Regions from separate parts of the Homo sapiens genome. Here region 2 is linked to region 1. Evidence: promoter capture Hi-C in human tissues and cell types (Jung and others, 2019). All regions are on one chromosome and are shown on one strand. The core of a region is centred on a gene start or on the middle of the fragment in contact, and the rest is flanking DNA. Distances in the headings are between cores, read along the strand shown.

Region 1 (5,537 bases), core at 1,722-4,221:
AGACAGCCTCGTCCTCCCCGGAAGGACTCAGGAAAGACACAAGAGGGAACCCAGCCCGACTGGCAGGGCGGCTGGGCCCGAGGAGCAGGAGGCAGAACGAGGCACCCACAGGGTGGGTGCTCTATCGGCCTAGTTTCCAGTGACTGCCAGCCTGGTGTTCAGAGAGCCAGCAGCCGGGAGTAGTGCCCGCTTCCCCCACAGGAAGTTCCTGTCTGCGCCCACCCAGGGGCTGGTGCTGAGCAGCTTCTCAGCTGAAGGAAGTGGCTGAGGGCGATGGGTGTGGGGGCGTCGACAGCCTTACAAAGGGAGGGGCGATCGCGCACTGGCCCTCCCAGCAGGCACCCGGGACTGCCAATGTGTCTCCCACACTGGCCGCTGCACAAGCTGAGAAGCTGGGACGGCCCGTGCCTCAGGGATCTGCCTGGCTGGCAGGCCAGCACCCTCAGCAAGCCCCACAGCTGTCCTGCACGAGTGGAGGCTGCTCACACAGCCCTTCCAGGCAGGTTCGTGATCACGCGTGTCCTGGCCCACAGGCTTCTGGTTACAGAGGTGGCTCACTGCTCAGACTGTCCCCTGGCTGAGAACAGCTCCTGCTGGGCCCCCAGGGGGCCTCCTGCGCGAGGGCTAGAGCAGGGTGCATGCCCCCACACTGGGATACTCTTGCCATGAGAGATCTACCCTGGAGGAGGAAGTTGCTCTGGTTGGGGAGCTTGCGGAGGGGACAGAACCAGACCAGCAACAAACTTCCGAAGGGAACCTGAAGAGCCTTTAAACTTTCTGTGGTCATTTGCATGCATGCCTTAGCAACACCAACAAGAAACAAAGTTAGAAGCAGAGAGAGAACAGCCAGAAAACAAAAGCCAGCAGGAAAAGTCGGGGAGAAAAATCTTTGAAAGGCAAAGGCTGTGTGAAAAGCTCTTGCAGGACCCGCGGTGAGACTAGGATGGTCGTCATTCTACCAAGAAAAGCATGGCAGAGGGGAGTTTTATAGGAAAGATGCTCCACAATTCCATGTGGTTCTGCATTCTGTGTTATGGAAACTACATTTTAGGAAAAGACATATTTGAAAAAGAAGGGCAAAGACCAATTTGTGCAGGTTAGGAAAGTGGAGATGCTGTGGCCGACCACACGGTGAAGGTGTTGGCACCCAAAGCCTACGGGAGGCTTTTCTAAAACAAGGCCTAAGTCAAGCCTCACAGCGCTCAGTAACAGATGAGAAGGTGCGGAACACACCTTCAAACACCCGCTACCTGCTCACAAGAAGGAAGTCCTGCCAGGCGCGGTGGCTCACGCCTGTCATCCCAGCACTTTGGGAGGCTGAGACGGGCAGGTCACCGGAGGTCAGGAGTTCGAGACCAGCCTGGCCAACATGGTGAAACCCCTTGTCTACTAAAAATACAGCAATTAGCCGGGCGTGGTGGCGGGTGCCTGTAATCCCAGCTACTCTGGAGGCTGAGGCAGGAGGATCACTTGAACCCAGGAGATGGAGGTTGCGGTGAGCCGAGATGGCGCCACTGCACTCCAGGCTGGGTGACAAGAGCAAGACTCTGTCTCAAAAAAAAATATTCCCGTTCAGAGGCTGCCCCCCCAAAATGTCACGGCTAAGTGAGATGGAGGAGCAGGGGCAGAGCCTGTAGCAGCCTCACAAGAGAAGTAGGTAGAGCTGTCCCAGCGTGGGCAGGCGCCTGTGCTGCCTGACACAGGTAATGAAGGCAGCTCTGCATCCTGACACTGGCCCTGCCACCTCCGTGGGTGACCAGCACACATCCACCTAGCAGTCCCAGCTCCCTCTGTACCAGGAGCCCCTGAAGTCAGCTGACTTTGCTTGCAAAATGTTCTAGAGCCTCCTACCAGTCTGGGTGCACCCCCCTCCACTCCACCACCTCAGCAGCTTGGATGTCTGCGGGGAAGCCCTCCTGCTCTCTCTCTCCCCTGCCACTGCTGATTTTGCTCAAGAGCTGTATTATTCAGCACTTAGGAGGGAGCAGACACTGATCTAGGCTTCCTCCCAACGGGGCTGGCAGCTCCAGAATACTTGAGCACAGCTCCCCGCCAGGAGAGCCACGTCCTCCAGTTTCTGTTCCTGAAACACCCTGGAGGAGCCGGCTGTGAGCCCTGGTGCAGCTGGAAACCCCAGCAAGGTGGTCAGTGTCTGCTCCTCTGTGGACCAGCCTGCCTGGCTACTCAGTGATCGGTGTGACTCAAGTTCTCCTTCAAACAAAACTAAGAACATCAGACTCCAAACAAGCCCCTCTAAACTTTAGGGAACTCCTTTCCTCTGTAGTCAAAACAGGCAGACAGCGGGTCCGAACAAGAGTTGATAGCAAAAACTACAAGTTATTTATTTACAACTGCCCATTCCAGCCGCACAAGCCCAAATCCACCACCACTGGCGGAGCGGTGGCACCTGCTGCCCTCTGAGTACCGGAGCGCCCGCCGCAGCCGCCGGGGACCCCGAGCTTGGGCAGGGCCGCAGGTCGCCCGGTGAACCGAAGCAGCAGTCGGACCGGGCGCCTGCGGCTGGCGCGAAGGAGGCTGGGCGGGGGATGAACGCGCCCAGAGGGCAGAGGCGGCGCGGCACAGGGAAACCCGGACCCCACGCGCCCCGAGGCCCCGGCGCCCCGAGTCCCCGCGCGCCCAGTCCGGAGCTGCACCGGGGCGGCCGCCGGCCTCGCGACCCCTCCCGCGGCGGGGCACGGCCCCCTCCCCGCGGCCCCTGGGCGGGCGCGCTCACGTGTGGCCGCAGCTGCCGATGGCCACGGGCCGGTGATAGACCTCCAGGCAGATGGGGCAGGTGTACTGCGCCTCCAGGCCGCTGTCGCCGCCCGCCGGCCCGGCCGGCGGCTGCCGCTGCTGAGCCGAGGCCACCAGGCTGCGGAACATAGCCATCCCGGGGCCAGGCCCGCGCCGCCCGCCGCCCGCTGTCCTGGCCCGGGCCGGCCCGCTAGTCACAGCCGCTACTGCGCCGCGCTGACGTCATCGTAGGGCGCCGCCCCCAGCCGGGCTTCGCGGCCGTCACGGCGCCACTCCGACGTCATCGGGGCGCGCCCTCGCGCTGTCGCCGCCACAGTCTGCGACGGGACCCGGCGTGCCCATGTGTCAGGTGGGCGAGGACTACGGGGAGCCGGCGCCTGAGGAGCCGCCCCCGGCGCCGCGGCCCAGGTAAGAGCTGGCGGCCGGACCCGCCAGGCCGCCCCTCGCCTTCCCGCCGCACTCCTGCCCCGAAGGGTCCCGGCCGGGCTTGCTCCGGGAAGCCCCGCGTGGAGAGCGGGACCTCGCTCCCTAGCACTCGGGGAATGCCTGTCAAGCGGTGACGGCCACCTAGAAGGGGACTTACTCCACTGGCTCGCGCCTCTCATCCTAGCAGCCACTGGGGACGGCTCTGCCGCTGACAGTGCTGTCCTTATTCGGAGAGAACTGGTGCCGTGAAGCTGTCTCGCCTCCCCGTGTCAGCCTTGGGAGACTGAAAAGCGGCCTTTATGTGCCCCCTGAGCCGGCTTTTCTAGGCTAAACATCCCCCCAGAGCCTTTGTTTTTCTTGAAGTTTGGACAGAACACAAGCCTGGGTTTGTGTGTGTACCGAGGTGCCTTTCTCTGACCCAACTCAGGGTGAGAAACAGGAGCTGTCTCCCCAAAGCCCACTAGGCGTGGGGAAGATGTGATCTGTGTTTCTCTCTTCTCCCCCCTCCCATCTCCAAAGCCGTGAGCAGAAGTGTGTGAAGTGCAAGGAAGCGCAGCCCGTTGTGGTGATACGAGCCGGAGATGCCTTCTGCAGGTGAGGCCTGGAGGTGGCTGAGACCCTGGCAAACATGGCCTCGCTAGCAGACAGGATAGCCGCAACTTGTGATGCTTTGTTAATTCTTTTTAAAAACATGTACTTACTTTATTCCTGCTCCTGATGGGGTCCCTCGTGCCCCTGGTGTTGAAGTGGAGGCGAAAGCATTGGTTTCCTGCTTGGGAAAGTTTCCCATGAGCTAGCCACAGATCCCCTGATGAGGTTTCTGATGGAACTTATGGGGACAGTTGGAAGTGGGGCCGTGGTGTCTAGACTGGGATAAGCTGTAGGAGGACCAGGCGTTTGGGGGCAGCTGGAATACATCTAGGGGCGGATCAGAGCATCTTGGGAACTTGGCAGATGGTCTGGGTGAAAGTTTTTAATCTCGTGTGAGATGCTTGTTTCATCTGTGGCAGGATAGAGGCTTGGAAGACCTCTAGCTTTCCCCCAGGCGCTTGTCATGTCTTTCTTGGCTTGTAGCCATTGTATTGTTCAGTTGTTTCCACTAGACTCATAGCTCCCTGAAGGGAGGACCAGGTCTCTCTCCTTTTAGCCCTCTTAATTCCCAGTGGTGGTGCGTGGTTTTTTTGTTGTTGTTGTTGTTTTTTTTGAGATGGAGTCTCCCTCTGTCACCCAGGCTGGAGTGCAACAGCTGGAGTGCATGATCCCAGCTCACTGCAACCTTTACCTCCTGGGTTCAAGTGATTCTCCTGCCTCAGCCTCCTGAGTAGCTGGGATTACAGGTGCCTGCCATCATGCCCGGCCAATTGTTTTTGTATTTTTAGTAGAGACAGGGTTTCACCATGTTGGCCAGGCTGGTTTCGAACTCCTGACCTCAAGTGATCCACCTGCCTCGGCCTCCCAAAGTGCTGGGATTACAGGCATGAGCCACCACACCTGGCCAAGATAGGTACTTCTTTAACCACCCAGGAGCATCTGAAATTGCCAAGAACACCAGGCTGCCGGCAGAATTCACTGAGGAGAGGCTGCTGTGGCTGTATGCTAGGCCCTTGTGGCCAGAAGGGCTTTTGCTGTGCTTGCTGGTCCCAAGGAACAGTGGGGAGCCGGCTCTCTAGGGGAAGGCCTTAGGAATCTACATCGAGCTGGGATCCCCAGGGATCATTCAGGTCAGCACGTGGGAGAAACCTTGGCCTTCCCTGACCCACAGGGGACAGCGTGGTTTCAGGAGCCCAGACGCAGCATGTACACGTGGACCCACCACGCTTGAATCCCAGCTGGTGGTGTAGGGCGCAGAGGCTCTCCTGGTCCACAGTGCGGAGGTGAAGCCCAGCACCTGTGTCTCCTTGTATGAGACTCCCCACGCCCAAAGCTGGGTCCTGGGGGTCACTTCCCATGTCCCAGCCTTGATACTTGCCAGTTACCTGCAGTCCCTCACCTGGCATCTTGCTGTTAAACACAGACTTGCTTTACTGTCTGTAAAGGAACCACAGGGGGGTCATTCGGCCTCTTGTACGTGGTATCCATTCAACGTAGGGAGGGACTGCTGTGCACATCAAGTGTGTCTGACAGGAAGGAAGAGACTTAGAGCCCCAGGTGCAGGGTGACTCTTGCAGTGGCATTGTCCGCTCTGTACCGGGTGCTGCTCTTCACCCTGCCTGCCAGGATTGCAGGAGAGCTTTAAAATGCAGACTCCTAGGCCTCACCCCTAGACAATTTGACTTAATTGGTTTGTGCAATTCTAACATACAGCCAGGGCCAAGAACCCCTGACGTAGTGAGCCAGAGTCAGATGGCTGGAAAGTT
Region 2 (6,709 bases), core at 3,444-5,943, 410 kb after region 1:
TGCAGCTGCTTACCTGCAGACCCAGTAAAAATTCACCCCTCTGGCGTGCAGCTCTGTGTGTCTTAAGAAACATCATCACAGTCAAAATAGAGAAGGGTTCCTCGCCTCAGAAACTCCCTTCCTAGTGCTCAGCACCTCCTCCACCCCCGAGGCCTGGCCCCTTGTTCCTGTTTCTCTTCTTGTGGTTTTGCTTTTTCTGGGAGGCCACGTGGCTAAATCCTGCAGGACGTGGCCTCTGAGCCTGTCTGCTTCCGCCCGGCTTCCGCCCACAGTCAACTGCCTGTGCTGTGTGCGTCAGAGCCCGCGCCTTTCCCTGCTGAGTGGCATCCGTGGTGTGGGTGCGGCACCGCTTGTGACCCTGTTTTAAGCAATGACACGTGAGATGTTATCAACATTTGTGTGCAGGTTTCTGTGCGAACGTGGTTTTTTATTTCACCTGGGCAGATACCTAGGAGAGAGATTGCTGTGTTGTCTGAAGCTTTCAAGCTGTTCTCCAGAGCGGCTACACCATCCCCTTCCCCCTGCAATGGGTGGGAGGTCACGAGCACCTGCTGCTCCAGCGGGCGGTGGTGGTGTCTCGTTGAGTTCATGATTCTCTCATGATGGGTGGCGTTGAGCACCTCTTCCTGTTCGTGTCATTCCGTTTTCAACTGGGGCCTTTGTTTTCTTGAGTTTTGAGAGCTTTTAAAATTCGGGACCCAAGTGTCAGCTGTGCGATTTTAAATATCATCTCCCAGCTTGTGGTTTGTCTTCCCATTCACCTAACAGCGTCTTTAAAATCAGGAGTTTTAGGTTTTGGCCCGGTTTATCAATTTGTTTTGTGAATTGTCTGATGTCATATCTAATAAATCCTTGCGTAGCCCAAAGTCACAGAGAATAGTTTCAGCTCTTACGTTTGGGACCATGATCCATTTTGAGTTAATGTTTGTACATAGTGCGAGATACGGACCACAGTTCTTTTTTAGTGTGTGAATGTCTAACTTTTTAGCACTGTTCGTTGAAAAGACTCCCTTCTCCATCGAACAGCCCTTTGGATCTTTGTTGAAAGTCCGTCGACTCCTGAGGGGTCGGCTCCTGGGCTCTGCTCTGTCCCATTGCTTTCCGTGTGCCCTTTGGCTCATTCCATGCCTGCTTGGTTCCTGGGACTCTAGGGTAAGCGTGGACATGGGGGTTCAGGCCCAGGCAGGGACCAGCTGGTGCCAGGCAGCGATACGGTGCTGGGGCCTGCAAGGTGAGTGTGAGGGCTGGCTGGCTGCTGGGCTGGGAGGAGGAGAGACTGTAGGCTCACGCCCCTTTGCTGGGCCTGGGGAGCCATGGGGGCTGTTAAGTGTATTCTGAGTGTAAAGTCTCGGTTTGGCTGGGGCATCCTGAGCAGAATGACAGGGCCATGGCAGCGAGATCCTCAGCTGCCGTGCAGAGCTGCCAGTGGGGTGGCCGCACAGAGTGCAGTGCCTGCTGCAACAGTGCCCAGGGCAGTGGGCGGGTGGGGGCATGTTGTGAAAAGAAGTCAGTGTGAGTGATGAGAAATACATCCTAGTCTCAGACCCCAGGAAACCGCCGTCAGTGCTGGTGGCCCCTGCCCTGGGCCGGCTCCCGCGTTAGTCTCAGACCCCAGGAAACCTCCACCTCCGTCAGTGCTAGCGGCCCCTGCTCTGGGCTGACTCGCGCATCTCCACGATGGCTGCGGCACCAGCTGTTTCTTCGGTGGCTAAAGCTCTCTGGTGGAAATAAGATGGGGACCTTGAAATCAAATGTGACTGGTCTGTTGAGTCTCTGTCCTTATCGTTGTCCTTCTTAGTAGGATGTGCTGGTTTTGTCCAGTGCCACCGGCCACAGTCACCACGTAATATGGACGGAATGAGCAAAGCCCGGCTCGCTGAGGCTGCAGGCTGCAGGCAAGTGAGGACTGAAAGGGTAACGGGCTCTGGGCTTTGTCCTCTCTTTGTTCCGGACATGTGAGCAGGACAAGTTCTGTGTATTCAGAATCTGTCTGCACAGTTTGTAGTTCATGATGACTGTTCATCCACAGCATTGCTTTGTGGGCGTCCTCTCTTTTGATCTTCTCGAAACAGCCCCTGCGATGGGGTCATATTTTGCACTCACATACAAGAACCCATGAGCCTGCCCACGGTCACGCGGCTGGTGAGTGATGCACTTCCCAGGAGCACGGTGACCTCTTCAATGGCCCTCACTAGAGAAGATGGACAGTGCCCCCCTAGCCTTTTTTACTGGAACAGATACAAGGCTGAGAAGCTGAAATCAGGAGCAGCCCAGGGACCACTGTCTACACCGAGGGAGTCATGAGCAGCCCAGGGACCACTGTCTACACCCAGGGAGTCAGGAGCAGCCCGGGGACTGCTGTCTACACCGAGGATGTCAGGAGCAGCCCAGGGACCACTGTCTACACTGAGAGCGTCAGGAGCAGCCCAGGGACCGCCGTCCACACCAAGAGCGCCAAGGAGCAGCCCAGGGACCGCCGTCCACACCGAGGGCGCCAAGGAGCAGATAGTAGCCCAGAGACCCAGGGGAGGCTCAGCTTCCCCACGCTGGAATCAGAACTCCTAGGCGAACAGGAAGGAGCCCCAGACAGATGGCACAGGGAGAGGAGTCCCCGGCTGAGGAGGGGGATCCAGAGACCCTGAAGCTTCAGGGTTATTGGGCAAGAAACCTGAGTGCACCAATCCCCGAGTCTTCAGCTACCGACGGCAGGTTCCCTCGGGTGCCGGGGATGCTCCCTCTTCTCTAAGGCAGAGCCCACAGTAGGTTCCCTCAGGCGCCAAGGACATTCCCTCTTCTCTAAGGCAGAGCCCACAGCAGGTTCCCTCAGGCGCCAGGGACGTTCCCTCTTCTCTAAGGCAGAGCCCACGGCAGGTTCCCTCGGGCGCCGGGGACGCTCTCTCTTCTCTAAGGCAGAGCCCACGGCAGATTCCCTCGGGCGCCGGGGACGCTCTCTCTTCTCTAAGGCAGAGCCTGACGGCAGGTTCCCTCGGGCGCCAGGGATGTTCCCTCTTCTCTAAGGCAGAGCATACGGCAGTTTCCCTGGGGCGCCGGGGACGCTCCCTCTTCTCTAAGGCAGAATCAAATATCTGTGATTTTATCCTTGCCTTTAAATCACCAGCAGTGTGAGTTCTTTGGTTTGGAAAAAAGTAAGTAAAGTCACCTCAGCATTAAATCCAATATGCCCCACAAAAACTCCAAAATGCAGCCTCCTGAGCCATGTTTCTAGAGGGCACGGTGGAGGAGAGCTTTCCTCACTCTCAGGCTCTAACCCCCACCCTGGTGGCCATGGCCTTGACCCTTGGGTCGGCTCCAGCCACAGGCTCTGAGCTCATGCTTGGCCTCGCTGCTCAGTGCACTGTCCGTGCTCGGAAGAGAGAGAAGCTGGGTGGAGGGTGAGCTCTGTCGTGTGTTATGGTTACAGGCCTGCTCCGTGCGGTTCCTGTGGAGGGAGATGAATAATTCATGGCCGACCACTGCTGGGCCTCGTCACACTCTAATTGGAGGTTGAGCTCAGAGGTGCTCACGGCTCCTGGGCCACTCTGTGGCATTGACAGGGAGCTCCAGGGCCTCATTGGCGGTTTCCGTTCCCTGGGTCCCAGTCCCCAGTCAGAGTTATCAGGGAGGGGCTGGCTGACAGCGATTTTAGAGGTGGGCTGTGGCAGGAAGGCAGTGCCCCCCACCTGCCTGCAGCTGCGCTCCCATCTACATTGGCCTTTGCGGGGCCAGCCTCTGTCCACTCTCTTGAGCTCTCATGTCCACACTGTCACATGCCCGGGGCACAGCGAGCGGCACCTGGAGTGTGGGGACCCCTCCCTCGAGCTCTCACGGGTGGCACCTGGAGTGTGGGGGCCCCTGCCTCAAGCTTTCATGGGTGGCACCTGGAGTGTGGGGGCCCCTCCCTGAAGCTCTCACGGGCGGCACCTGGAGTGTGGGGGCCACTCCTTGAGCTCTCATGGACAATACCACTGCTTGGCTGCTGCAGAATCCAGACACCATCCCAGAGCCTCTTCAGCCTCTGCAGATGGTGTGGGACGGCCACACGGCCTCCCCACCTGCGGCCCCCGCCCCTACCCCAGCCGTGCCGTGTCCTTGCGCTGCGTCCCCGCCCCAGTAGAGGCATCACCAGGAAGAGGCGAAAGGCCGCCTGTGATGGTCCTCTTCTTATGAAACGCCCAGAACAGAAAAACCACGGACGCGGACAGCAGACCTGGTGCCAGGTCTGGGGAGGGAGGGTGTGGCGGTCGTGGGCTGTGCGGGAGTTCTGACTAGGGGAAGTGGGGGGCTGTGCAATGTGTGTGCGGAACACCGCCGTGCCGCGCACTGAAATGGGAAGTCATGTGTTATGCGGGTTTCACCCCCATTTAAAAATCTTCAGAAGCAAAACATAAAGGAGGAGAAAGGATGGAAGAAAGGGGGCTGAAGCTGGCCCCGCCACACCCCCCATAGTGGTGACACGGGTTTCTGACCAGAGTGGAGGTTCGGGGCGTCTGCATACCTGGAACCACAGAGAACTCCCGAGGTGACACTCCGCACACCACACTAGCCCGGCTTCGCCTGCAGGACCCCAGGTGTGGACAGGCCCAGCAGGATCAGCAAGACCGAGCCGGGCACCGACAGCCCCTCACCAAGCGTCTGGAGGCCGGGACGCCCCATGGATTGCAGAGTTCACTGCACTGACCCTCGATGCTGACCCTTGAAGTGCCGGAAATCTCAGCGTGGACTCAGACATGATAAGCGTTCAGGCACTCCCCTGACGCAGGCCAGGGCAAAGGCCTCACGCCCCGGGATAGACAGGAAGTCCCACGTCTGCTCTGCCCCTAGGTCATGCCCGTGCTGACGCCACATCGCCAGGGCCGCACTCCATGAGCAGCCTCTGCCGTCCCACCAGCAACCTAAACCACAGGCAGAGCGAGGCTGCGGCAGCCCTGCGTGTGCCGGCGGGACACGTCTCGCCACCTGGGCTCTGCCCCCACCCCGGCCAGTGTAAGATATGATTTTAGCCACGTTGAGACTGTGCAGGTGGGATGGATACACTGAGCAAATCATGGGTGTCTAATAAATGAGCCAGTACAAAGTGTGGTCCACCTGCCATGCAGAGTTCAGGACAGCCCCTCCTGGGGACATAGGGCAGATCCTGCCTTAGCCCGTCGTGTGCCGGGCACACACAGGTCCCCTCATCGTGGACAGCCCCGGGGCCATCAGGGCAAGGCGCCAGCCCTCCCTGGCCAGCAAGTGTGTAAAAGTGGGAATGACACCAGAATCTGTGGGCAGCTGTGAGGCTTTGGGAAGTAACTGGGAAAGTGATGTATGAGGGGCCCAGGGCAGGCCAGGCCCAGCGTGCCACGTGAGTGCCTGCTGTGCCACATGGCCATCACTGTGGCATCGGCTGGGCCTGAGCACACCGTGCTTGCCAGCCACGTATCGTGTGGCTTTTCACCTGCTGGTGCCTACACCATCTTCTCTCTGGGTCACAGGGCACGTCGCTCCCTCCACACAGACTCCCGCACGTGGCACACGGGAGCTCAGCGGGATCCGAGCTCAGTGTGTGCTTCTCTCCTCCAGGTTCCTCTCACTCCAGCCTCCCCTTCAGTGTTTCTCCTCTCCTGTAGGTTCCGTGGGGACCCCACTGCCTGGAGTACAGGTGCGCATTGTCTCAGAAAACCCACAGAGGGAAGCCTGCTCCTACACCATCCACGCAGAGGGAGACGAGAGGGGGACCAAGGTAAGCCACTCTGCTCTTGGCAGGTGGGCGGCCGTGTGTCCAGTCTAGGCCCCCCAGGGTGGTTACACTGGTGCATCTTTCCCCTGGAGGCAGACTCCCCTCCACGCAGGGGACCAGCCCCCTGGACACTGCAGGTGCTGGCTGGTGTTGCAAGGGCACTGGCTGGTGTTCTGGGCCCTGCCTGCTGCGTGTCCGTCTGTGCGTTCACAGAGCAGTGGGCAGAGGGAGCCCAGGGCGGAACGCCAAAGGGACTCACACCCGGGCACACAGCTCCTCCCAGGGGCCCTGTCCACGGGGACAGGCTGACGTGGGCCATGATGGCCTTGGCTAAGCGGAAGAGATAAAGAGCAGAGGCCGTTGTTGTTGATGGGAATCTGGTTAGAAATATGAACTGGCCTGACCCTGGCACCCGTCCTGAGGGGACGCTGACCACAGGCCCCCATAGTAGGTGTGGGGAGATTCACGGGGCCCTGCACGCGGAGGTGGGTGCCTGTGCAGTGCTCTGTGGCTGCCTCCTTGTCTTGTGCGTTATTCTAAAGCTGACAAGGGTGAACAAGAACAAAGGACATTGTCTCATTTCTGTGAGGATTTTAACATGAGAGTCTGCTCATCACACGTGAACTCATCACAGAGAAAGGTTTAGGGATTATGGGGAAATGGAATCTTGATTTAAAAGGAAATTATTTTCTCTGAAGCCAGTATCCACACCTGATACCACACATGATTGACTGTGTTGCCCTGAGGTTTTCAAAGATCGAGGGATCCTGAGTCTCATCTCTGTGCATTTCCTTCTCTGTGACACCATCTTGGCCCTCACGGGCACAACTGAGCTCCCTGTGCAGAGGCTGAGGGGCCGTGGGCCTTGCTCTCGTGAGTGAACAGCCACACGCCCTCCTTGTACCTTGGTTTCCACACATGACCACGTGAGGGTTGGAGCGATGGTCGTGGTTGGACGTTTTAGCTCCAGCAACCAAGTAGGATGTGGGT

The links. The method cuts DNA at HindIII sites, captures the fragments that hold promoters and counts their contacts. A contact is called where the count stands out against the background at its distance.
Region 2: a fragment that was not itself captured here is called in contact with the fragment with the promoter of RNF166 in region 1 in 1 of the 25 tissues and cell types used here (dorsolateral prefrontal cortex).

Annotation. Positions count from the first base shown.
Region 1 is chr16:88,703,437-88,708,973 of GRCh38, forward strand. It overlaps RNF166 (ring finger protein 166), which reads right to left and starts at 2,972. Exons shown (of 6, transcript NM_178841.4): 1 at 2,735-2,972. The coding sequence starts at 2,889. It overlaps CTU2 (cytosolic thiouridylase subunit 2), which reads left to right and starts at 3,067. Exons shown (of 15, transcript NM_001012759.3): 1 at 3,067-3,162; 2 at 3,700-3,774. The coding sequence starts at 3,095. RefSeq lists an enhancer at 2,447-3,084 and silencers at 2,706-2,985, 3,026-3,335. The HindIII fragment of the contact is 44,302 bases long and covers 1-5,537 here.
Region 2 is chr16:89,115,192-89,121,900 of GRCh38, forward strand. ACSF3 (acyl-CoA synthetase family member 3) reads left to right here. Exons shown (of 11, transcript NM_001243279.3): 7 at 5,610-5,722. Among named protein-coding and RNA genes, the nearest start is that of ACSF3, 25 kb to the left of the region's middle. RefSeq lists a silencer at 3,330-3,624 and an enhancer at 3,330-3,624. The HindIII fragment of the contact is 6,265 bases long and covers 1,562-6,709 here.